Linked DNA regions of Homo sapiens: all the other regions are linked to region 3. The links are contacts of gene promoters, found by promoter capture Hi-C in human tissues and cell types (Jung and others, 2019). All regions are on one chromosome and are shown on one strand. Each heading gives the region's core, a stretch centred on a gene start or on the middle of the fragment in contact. The rest is flanking DNA. Distances are from core to core; before and after follow the strand shown. Region 1 holds the start of D2HGDH (D-2-hydroxyglutarate dehydrogenase). Region 2 overlaps THAP4 (THAP domain containing 4). Region 3 holds the start of FARP2 (FERM, ARH/RhoGEF and pleckstrin domain protein 2).

Region 1 (2,700 bases), core at 149-2,648, 380 kb before region 3:
GCAATTTGGGAAGCCGAGGCGGACGGATCACGAGGTCAAGAGATCGAGACCATCCTGGCCAACATGGTGAAACCCTGTCTCTACTAAAAATACAAAAATTAGCGGAACGTGGTGGCGGGCGCCTGTAGTCGCAGCTACTAGGGAGGCTGAGGCAGGCAAATCGCTTGAACCCGGGAGGCAGAGGTGGCAGTGAGCCGACGTCGCGCCACTGCACTCCGGCCTGGCGACAGAGTGAAACTCCGTGACTGCACTCCAGCCTGGCGACAGAGTGAGACTCCGTCTTAAAAAAAAGAAAAAACAAAACAACAACAACAACAAAACTTGGGTTGTTCTAAGCGACTCGTTCGTGGTCATTCATTCCAGCAGCCTGTGGCGGTGCACACGCCCCTCTCAGCGCAGCCAGGGGCTGGCACCCCCATCCAGGTTGTTCTCAGCCCGCTTTGAAGCCTCCACGGGAAGGCGCAGCGGAGCAGGGACGCGGAAACGCCGCAGCTTCCCAAGCCTCACCCACCTCGCAGCGTCCGCAACCAGTCCACGTTGGGAGCCTGCAGCGCTTCCGGGTCCGTGACGACCCCGCCGGGCACGATGCGCTCAAAGGCGGCCAGGTCCTGCTTAGACACCGTGGAGAACGGCAAGCGCCGCACGGGGTAGCGCTCCCGGGTCAGCGGCACCTCGGGGGTCCCCGGGGCGGAGCAGCAGCCTCTGCGGGCCAGGGGGCCAACCGGCCGACCCCAAGAACCCGCGGCTCCCGGAGCACCCCGCAACAGCCACGCGGGCCACGCCAGAGGCCGACGGGGCAGCATCGCCGCCGGGACGGAGACCTCGGGCTCCTCCTTGGTGGGGGGCCGGTACTCAGGGCCCGGAGGGGAAGGGCAGGGAGCCGCTGGCTGCGCGCCTGGAAGTGGCCAAGGGTAATTTCATGTTTTATGCACGTTGTACAAATTGAAACACGCTTGCAGAAGCAGGGAGGGGGCAGGAGGGCAGCGAAGGGAAGGCTCCGAGCACCCGGGCCCTCCCCCTGCCCGGGCCGCAACCCCGCGAGCGCGCGAAGCCCCACGCAGCAGGCCTGGACTTAGCGACGCGCAGGCTCGGGGCGGCCTCGCCGGGACCTTGCCCAGGACCCCGTTCCTCCGAGCTCGCCCCCCGAGGGGATCCCGCGGACGCGCGCGCGTGTTCCACGCGGTCACGTGACGAGCTGCAGCGCCGTCCCCCTCCCCCCACAGGCACCGACTGGCTGACGGCGCCCGAGATCGCGCCCCGCCACCCCGACCCGCGGCTGAACCGCAGACCGGGACCCTCAGCCCAGCGCTCCGCGCGGCCGCGCGCACGCACCCACGATCACGTCCCGAGCTCCAACCCGCAGCGCCCGCCGCAGGCCCAGAGCCGCCGAGCCGGAGTGGGCGGGGCGACGCCGCGCCTGCGCATTGACGGCTCCGCCCAGCGGCCGAAGCCCCGCCCCGCGCGCCTAACGGGCCCCGCCCCGCCTGCCCTCCAGGCCCAGCCCTGCGCGCCTACAGTCCCCGCCCCGCCGTCCAAGCCCCGCCCCGACTGGCACCGGAGGCTCGACGGCCACCGCCTCGTCCTGCGTTTCCTGAGGGCCTCCGGCGCGCCGGCTGTCGGGCGCATCCCTCCAGGTAGAGAAGGGACTAGGCTGAGCGCAGCCCAAGACGCCCAAGCAGCAGCTGGAGGGTTCTCCAGAACGAGGCCCGGGACGTGGGCTCGGCCGAGGGACCTGGGGGCCGGCCCGCTCCTCCGAGGCCGAGCCCAGGGGGCGCCCCTTTCCCCAGCGGCCTCCCCAGCTCCTGCACGGACCACCCCTCCTGGGTCCCCAGCCTTAGCTTAGGGGGCAGCTGCCTCCTGCAGGTGTTTTCTTGCCTCCCTGTCCCTTCTGCCTGTTCAGCCCTCCGTGCCCTCAAACCCTTTGCACACCTGGGGAGCTCCTGCCCTCCTGACGCAGTAACTGCTGTCCCGAGGAGCCTCCCGGCCTGGGATCCCCTGCCTGAGGCATCGCCAGCACTTGTTTTGTGTTTTTTTGAGACAGGGTCTAGCTCTGTTGCCCAGGCTGGAGTTCTGGGGTTGATCTCAGCTCACTGCAACCTCTGCCTCCCGAGCTCAAACCATCCTCCCACCTCGGCCACCCAAGTAGCTGGGACTACGGGCGTGCACCACCACACCCGGCTAATTTTTTGTTGTTGTTGTATTTTTGTAGAGATGAGGTCTCATGTGCTGCCCAGGCTGGTCTCGAACTCCTGGACTCAAGCGATCCGCCCGCGTCGGCCTCCCAAAGCACTTGTTACTTCAGCTCACCCAATTCCATAGAACCCTAGCGGGTGCAGAGGATGCCAATCTCTGAGCAGATGAGGGCAGAGAGCAGGAGACCACACTTGGCCCGAGGCAGGACTGCGGAGCTGTGCAAGAGGTGGAGGCTACGCCCGTGACAGCAGATGGGTCCTGGTAGTCACACAGAAAACCGGCGAGCTGGATTTGTCCTGGTGATGAGGCTCTGGAGCAGCAGTTGCAAGGAGTCATTCCTGTCCTCCTTAACCACATCCCCAGAGGCCACTCACCTTCTTCCCAGGTGAATCATTCATACAACCCTGGAAAGGAGACATCCACCTGGCCCTTCCTACCTGGCTGGCCCTTGCTCTGCAGATGAGTGTGGGAGTTTGCCCATTGTCAAGGGTAACTGTTGCAATTACA
Region 2 (2,700 bases), core at 42-2,541, 260 kb before region 3:
CACCCCTCATTCACCCCTCACTCACGACTCACCCCTCACTCACCCCTCACTCACCGACTCCTCACTCACCCCTCACTCACCCCTCACTCACGACTCACAACTCACTCACCCCTCACTCACGACTCACGCACCCCTCACTCACCGACTCACTCACCCCTCACTCACCAACTCACTCACCCCTCACTCACCCCTCACCGACTCACTCACCCTTCACTCACCGACTCACTCACCCCTCACCCCTCACTTACCAACTTACTCACCAACTCACCCAGAGCAACTGCCCATGCTGCACACTCCAGTGCTGGTAAGTGCCTTATGCAGGTGAACCATTTTTTGTCTCTTATGCCATATTTTTACTGTAGGTTTTCTATGTTTAGATGTGTTTTAGGTACACACACCCTTGGCACTGTGTTACAACTGCCTACAGTATTCAGTAACACACTGGGGTGTGTAGCCTGGGAGCACAGGCTGTGCCATACAGCCTAGGTGCGTGGTACGCGGTAAGTGCACTCTGTGACGTTTGTACAATGATGAACTTGCCTCATGACGTGTTTGTCAACGCATCCCCCATCAGTAAGTGCTGCTTGACTGAAAGGTGAAGTAAGTGTGCCTTGTTTGGAGGGCATCCATCCCCTTAACCTGGCTGGCACTCGGGCTGTGTTTAATCCTGCAGTGGCTGTAAAATTCCTCGAGTGTCCTTGTTTTGTCTCCCTGTTGTCGTGGAGTTTCTCCGAGCATGCCTTCCACAGCCTGCGCCTGGGCCCTTTCCACTCCCACCCAGGATGTTATGCTGGAGCCTGCAGGGCTGGGAGGGGAAGCAGGCTCCAGCCTGTGACTCGATTTAAGCCCTTCAGTGGCCCGTGTCCCTGAGCCGTGACCTTCACACGTGTCTTTCCCTTTCTCCTCCCCGCTTGGGTGAGACGGAAGACTGGTGGGGCTGGAGCAGTGAAATGCCCTTCCCAGCTGAGATGAGGTCCTGGTGAAGTCAGCTTCGCTACAGAGCAGGCCTGGCCTTTGCCTGGAGAACGCTCTGGGCTCATTTCAAGGTGGTCACCTCCCCCTCCTCATCCCAGAGACATGAGGTGTTTTTTTTTTTCTTGGCTTTTCGTGGGGAGAACCTGATGGGGTTCCTGGAGGTGAAACCTATGAAAATGTAGGACCCCAGGAGATTCTCACACCTGCCATGTTCAGCCTCCAGCATTTTGTCCAAATCAAGTTCCCACCAGTTCCTTCCCCTGTAGACTGTAGATTCTGCTCCACGTGAGCTGATCTCACTGCTATTCTCTGTGGCAGGAGAGACATCTGTGACCTCACTTCCTTATGGATCCAAGAAAAGTTGTTGATTTTCACTTCTTTCAGTGTTTTTTGCTGTTGTTTTAAGGCTGTGGTATATGACTCCTAAGCTCTTTACATGTGAGAGTGGAAACCGGAAGCTTACTCCCCACCCATTATTTTTCGGTTATTGCTAGCGTGTGGGAAAGCTACCCATTTTAGTAATTGGCCATCTTATCAAATTCACTTGTAGATTCTAATAGTTCTTCAATTGAGACTCAGATTAACGAGGAAATCAAACATAACATTTGCAAATTATTTGTATCCACTTTATGGCCTTTTTATATTTTATAGAAATACTTGCTGTATTTTCTCTCCATCATGATTTCTGTTTTTCCCCTGGGCATGCAACTCCTTCCGTTTCATGGTTGATAAGTTGAGGGCCTTGATGTCACTTTAAAACAACAGTTCCCTGCTGGTATGCCTTGTCAGTGGACCCAAACATATCACGGTGTTCCTGGACAGCTCCTCCCCACCTTGGGACAGCTGGTGCGGGCCGCGCACCCTCAGCTTCCATGCACCCTGTTGTACTAAGCAGTAAGTGTCCCTTTCTGTGTGTGCCTTGGCAGGAAACAACGTGTCACTAACACAAAGAGATGTGAGGGTGGGAGCTCCAGGAAGGAGCCGTCCCCAGGTCCCAGTGGGTGCATTTGCTCACTTCCTGTCCTGGGTTCCCGGGCCGCTTGCCAGGAGACAGGACAGTCTCTGGAGCCTCCATGTCCAGGTGAAGATGAGTCTCCAGCCACCCTCTAGGAGACAGAAAAGGACATGCCAGGGGTGGCCAGAGGGACTGCTCTGGAGAGAGAAAGCATTTAGGATGTGCCTGTCTCTGTGGTGTTGCCTTCCTCTGCTGTAGCTGGTGGAGGAGGCTGAGGGTAGAAGCCGCACTCGTCACTCCGCCCAGACCTCTGGCCAGTCCCTCTTTCATAAAATTCACCTAACCTCCAAAGCTCCTTCCAGCTCTGAAATTCTGTGATCTGGGCTGTCATTGTCTTTTACTTTCTTCTGAGACGTGATCTTTCATAGTGGAACTACAATTCCCAGAATGCACCATTTAAAGTTAGCATTCACTTCCTGCAGAGCCATTAAGAGCCAGGTGCAAACATTTCCCGTCAATTGGCAGAAAACAACCTTGAGGAACCTTGACGAGTGTCCGGAGTTTAGAAAACTTAGGGATGGGTAAGCCTGCTTTCAGTGTCTTGGGCCAAAACATGAAAATTTAAATTTCTTGCAGGAAATTTAAATTTTTGTTTTTGTGTTTTGGTTGAGATTTCAATAAAAGAAAAATGAAATCAGAAAAGAAATGCCTAGAAAAGCCTGTCTGGTTTATTTAAAGAGGTGGAAAGTGACAAATAGACTAGGTCCTTT
Region 3 (2,700 bases), core at 201-2,700:
CATCAGCATTTAGTTTGTTAACAGTGAACCACCTAATGAGAATCTGCAACAAGGATAGGGCACATGAGAAGTACAGATGGTATTTGCAAGTACCCTAGGTGTGACCCTAAACTGGTCATTCCACCTCTCTCAACCTCCCTTTCCTCTACTTTAAAACGGGGCTGTGCAACTTGGTCATGTCTCTGAAGAGTTTTGGAAAACTGAATAAATAACGAGCATGAAGTGCTTCCTAAACCTTTAAGGACCTCAAAAAACAAAACAAAACAAAACTTTCAACAAGCAGATGTAGAAAATTTAAATTATATTTGGCCTACAAGTAAAGGTTACTCCATGCTTCCCTACCTCAAATGTCCTCTCCCATCTCTCTGGTACTGAGAAAATCTGTGTCGCCTGTTATAAGGCAGTCTACACAAGACCAACACGCTAACCCACTGCCACCTCAGGGTTATCAAACATTTACACAGTGGCCCAGACAAAAATATCCCACGGAAACAAAACAAAAACAAAAACCCAGAGAGAAAAACCACCCTTTAAAGATTTGGCCTTGGGTTTTAAATTTGCCCATCCCTTTTTAACACTATGTATTGACAATCTTTCCTTCAATGATGCCTTGTTCTAATTTCTGCTTTTCACATCCATTAATGGCACATGATAGGCCAGGGGTTGCTGCCATAGCGTAAACGGAAAAGGTGCCCGTAATTCGGGTGTGTAATGTACTGGGCCATATTCTGGTCCCCAGTTTTCATGGGTTTCCCAAAGGCTACCCACTGGCTTATGAGTATTTCTAGCCCTTAGTGGAGTAAAAATATTAACACCTAACACTTGATTCCCACCTTTAAGATACAATTTAAAGAAATGCTAAAAAGGCAAACGGCTCAAAATGCCTCCACCAGGCACCTCCAGGCCCATACCCTGCGGGTCCCTATGGCCCACTCTGGGGTGTCCTTCCGGGATGGGACACTCCCCGGCCCACGGCCCTGCCGGCCTCCACGGGGCACAACTCAACCCGCGAGTCCACGCGGGACACTCCCCGGTCTACAGCCCCACCGGCCTCCTCCACGCGGCACCCCTCAACCCGGGAGTCCACGCGGGCCACTCCCCGGCCCACCGCCCCGCCTGCCCCCACGCGGCAGGCTCCCTACAGACGGACGCTCCTCTAACCCGGACCCGCCTAGGAGCTCCAGCCGCCTCACGATGGCCTTCAGAGGCCGGGCGGGACCATCTCTGGTGGACCGCGGCCTCAGCGCCCCCCCCGCCTGGGCCTCTCGCCTCGGGCCTCGGGCTTCGCCGCCCACCCGGAGAGGCCCACCCCTGCCCCACGCGCCCAGGCCGCTTCACGTCCTCACCCTCGGCCTCTCGCTCGCCCGCCGCGTCCTCACCGGCCTCGCCCGGCCTCCGCAGTCGCAAGCAGCAGCCGCCAGACTCGCGTCGGCGTCGCCTGCTCCCAACTGCCCGCCGGCAGCCCCCGCGCAGCGCGCCCCGCCCTGACCCCGCCCCCGCGACGCGGACGCGCAGTCGATTGGCCTGCGGGGCGCCAGGGCGGAGCCTTCCCGTCCCGCGGCCTGAAAGCGCAAGATCGAGTTCTGATTGGTGAACGGACGGAGAAGGGGCGGGAGCAGGCAGGCAGCTGCGTAGGATATAAATCTGTGCAGCGCTCGGCTCGTTGGGCGGGGCGTCGGCTTGCTGAGCGAGGCAATGTCCTAGGCGAAGCCAAGGCTCGCTGGGCGGGGCTAGATCTTGGGCGGGGAGTCGGCTCGTTGGGTGGGGCTAGGTCCTGGGCGGGGAGTCGGCTCGCTGGGCGGGGCTAGGTCCTGGGCGGGGAGTCGGCTCGCTGGGCGGGGCTAGGTCCTGGGCGGGGAGTCGGCTCGCTGGGCGGGGCTAGGTCCTGGGCGGGGAGTCGGCTCGCTGGGCGGGGCTAGGTCCTGGGCGGGGAGTCGGCTCGCTGGGCGGGGCTAGGTCCTGGGCGGGGAGTCGGCTCGCTGGGCGGGGCTAGGTCCTGGGCGGGGAGTCGGCTCGCTGGGCGGGGCTAGGTCCTGGGCGGGGAGTCGGCTCGCTGGGCGGGGCTAGGTCCTGGGCGGGGAGTCGGCTCGCTGGGCGGGGCTAGGTCCTGGGCGGGGAGTCGGCTCGCTGGGCGGGGCTAGGTCTTGGGCGAGGTCTAGGCTCGCTGGGCGCGGATAGGTGCTGGGCGAGGCCTAGGCTTGCTGGGCGCGGATAGGTGCTGGGCGAGGCCTAGGCTTGCTGGGCGCGGATAGGTGCTGGGCGAGGCCTGGCTCGCTGGGCGGGGATAGGTCTTGGCCCGGGCCTTGCCGGCTGTCCTTGCACCCTTTGGCTCAGTCCCTGGCTGCCAGCCTCCTCCTTCCTCCAACGCATTGCATCCCTCGTGGGACTACAGGGACCGAAGGGGATCATCGAAGGATCGCGCGAGGCTGTGCTAAGGCTGAGACAGGCTGCTCCGTGGTGGCGGCCAGGACGGCCTTCCTCTGGCCTAGGGACCCCCACCCGAGAATGGAAGACTGACTTGCTGTGGCACACTTCCCTTCTCTTGAGAAGTTCATTGAACTCCTATGTGTTCTTCAAGACCCTACCCATCGTGCTCTCCTAGCCCGGCCCTGTCACCCACTGTCACCATGTGGCTGTTGAGGGAATAATTAACTTCAGGAAACACCCGGGCACTTAAGAGACTCCTCCTATGGTGCTGTG

Evidence for each region. The method cuts DNA at HindIII sites, captures the fragments that hold promoters and counts their contacts. A contact is called where the count stands out against the background at its distance.
Region 1: a contact is called between the fragment with the promoter of D2HGDH here and the fragment with the promoter of FARP2 in region 3, in 1 of the 25 tissues and cell types used here (spleen).
Region 2: a contact is called between a fragment that was not itself captured here and the fragment with the promoter of FARP2 in region 3, in 1 of the 25 tissues and cell types used here (lymphoblastoid cells).

The regions. Positions count from the first base shown.
Region 1 is chr2:241,733,328-241,736,027 of GRCh38, reverse strand. D2HGDH (D-2-hydroxyglutarate dehydrogenase) reads right to left here and starts at 1,398. Exons shown (of 10, transcript NM_152783.5): 1 at 1,333-1,398; 2 at 512-895. The coding sequence starts at 803. RefSeq lists an enhancer at 332-571 and silencers at 612-721, 732-1,781, 1,822-1,871. The HindIII fragment of the contact is 17,644 bases long and covers 1-2,700 here.
Region 2 is chr2:241,617,223-241,619,922 of GRCh38, reverse strand. The region is part of intron 2 of THAP4 (THAP domain containing 4); the gene reads left to right. Among named protein-coding and RNA genes, the nearest start is that of THAP4, 19 kb to the left of the region's middle. RefSeq lists an enhancer at 2,271-2,390. The HindIII fragment of the contact is 4,913 bases long and covers 1-2,700 here.
Region 3 is chr2:241,355,035-241,357,734 of GRCh38, reverse strand. It overlaps FARP2 (FERM, ARH/RhoGEF and pleckstrin domain protein 2), which reads right to left and starts at 1,450. Exons shown (of 27, transcript NM_014808.4): 1 at 1,347-1,450. RefSeq lists a silencer at 1,113-1,662. The HindIII fragment of the contact is 18,573 bases long and covers 1-2,700 here.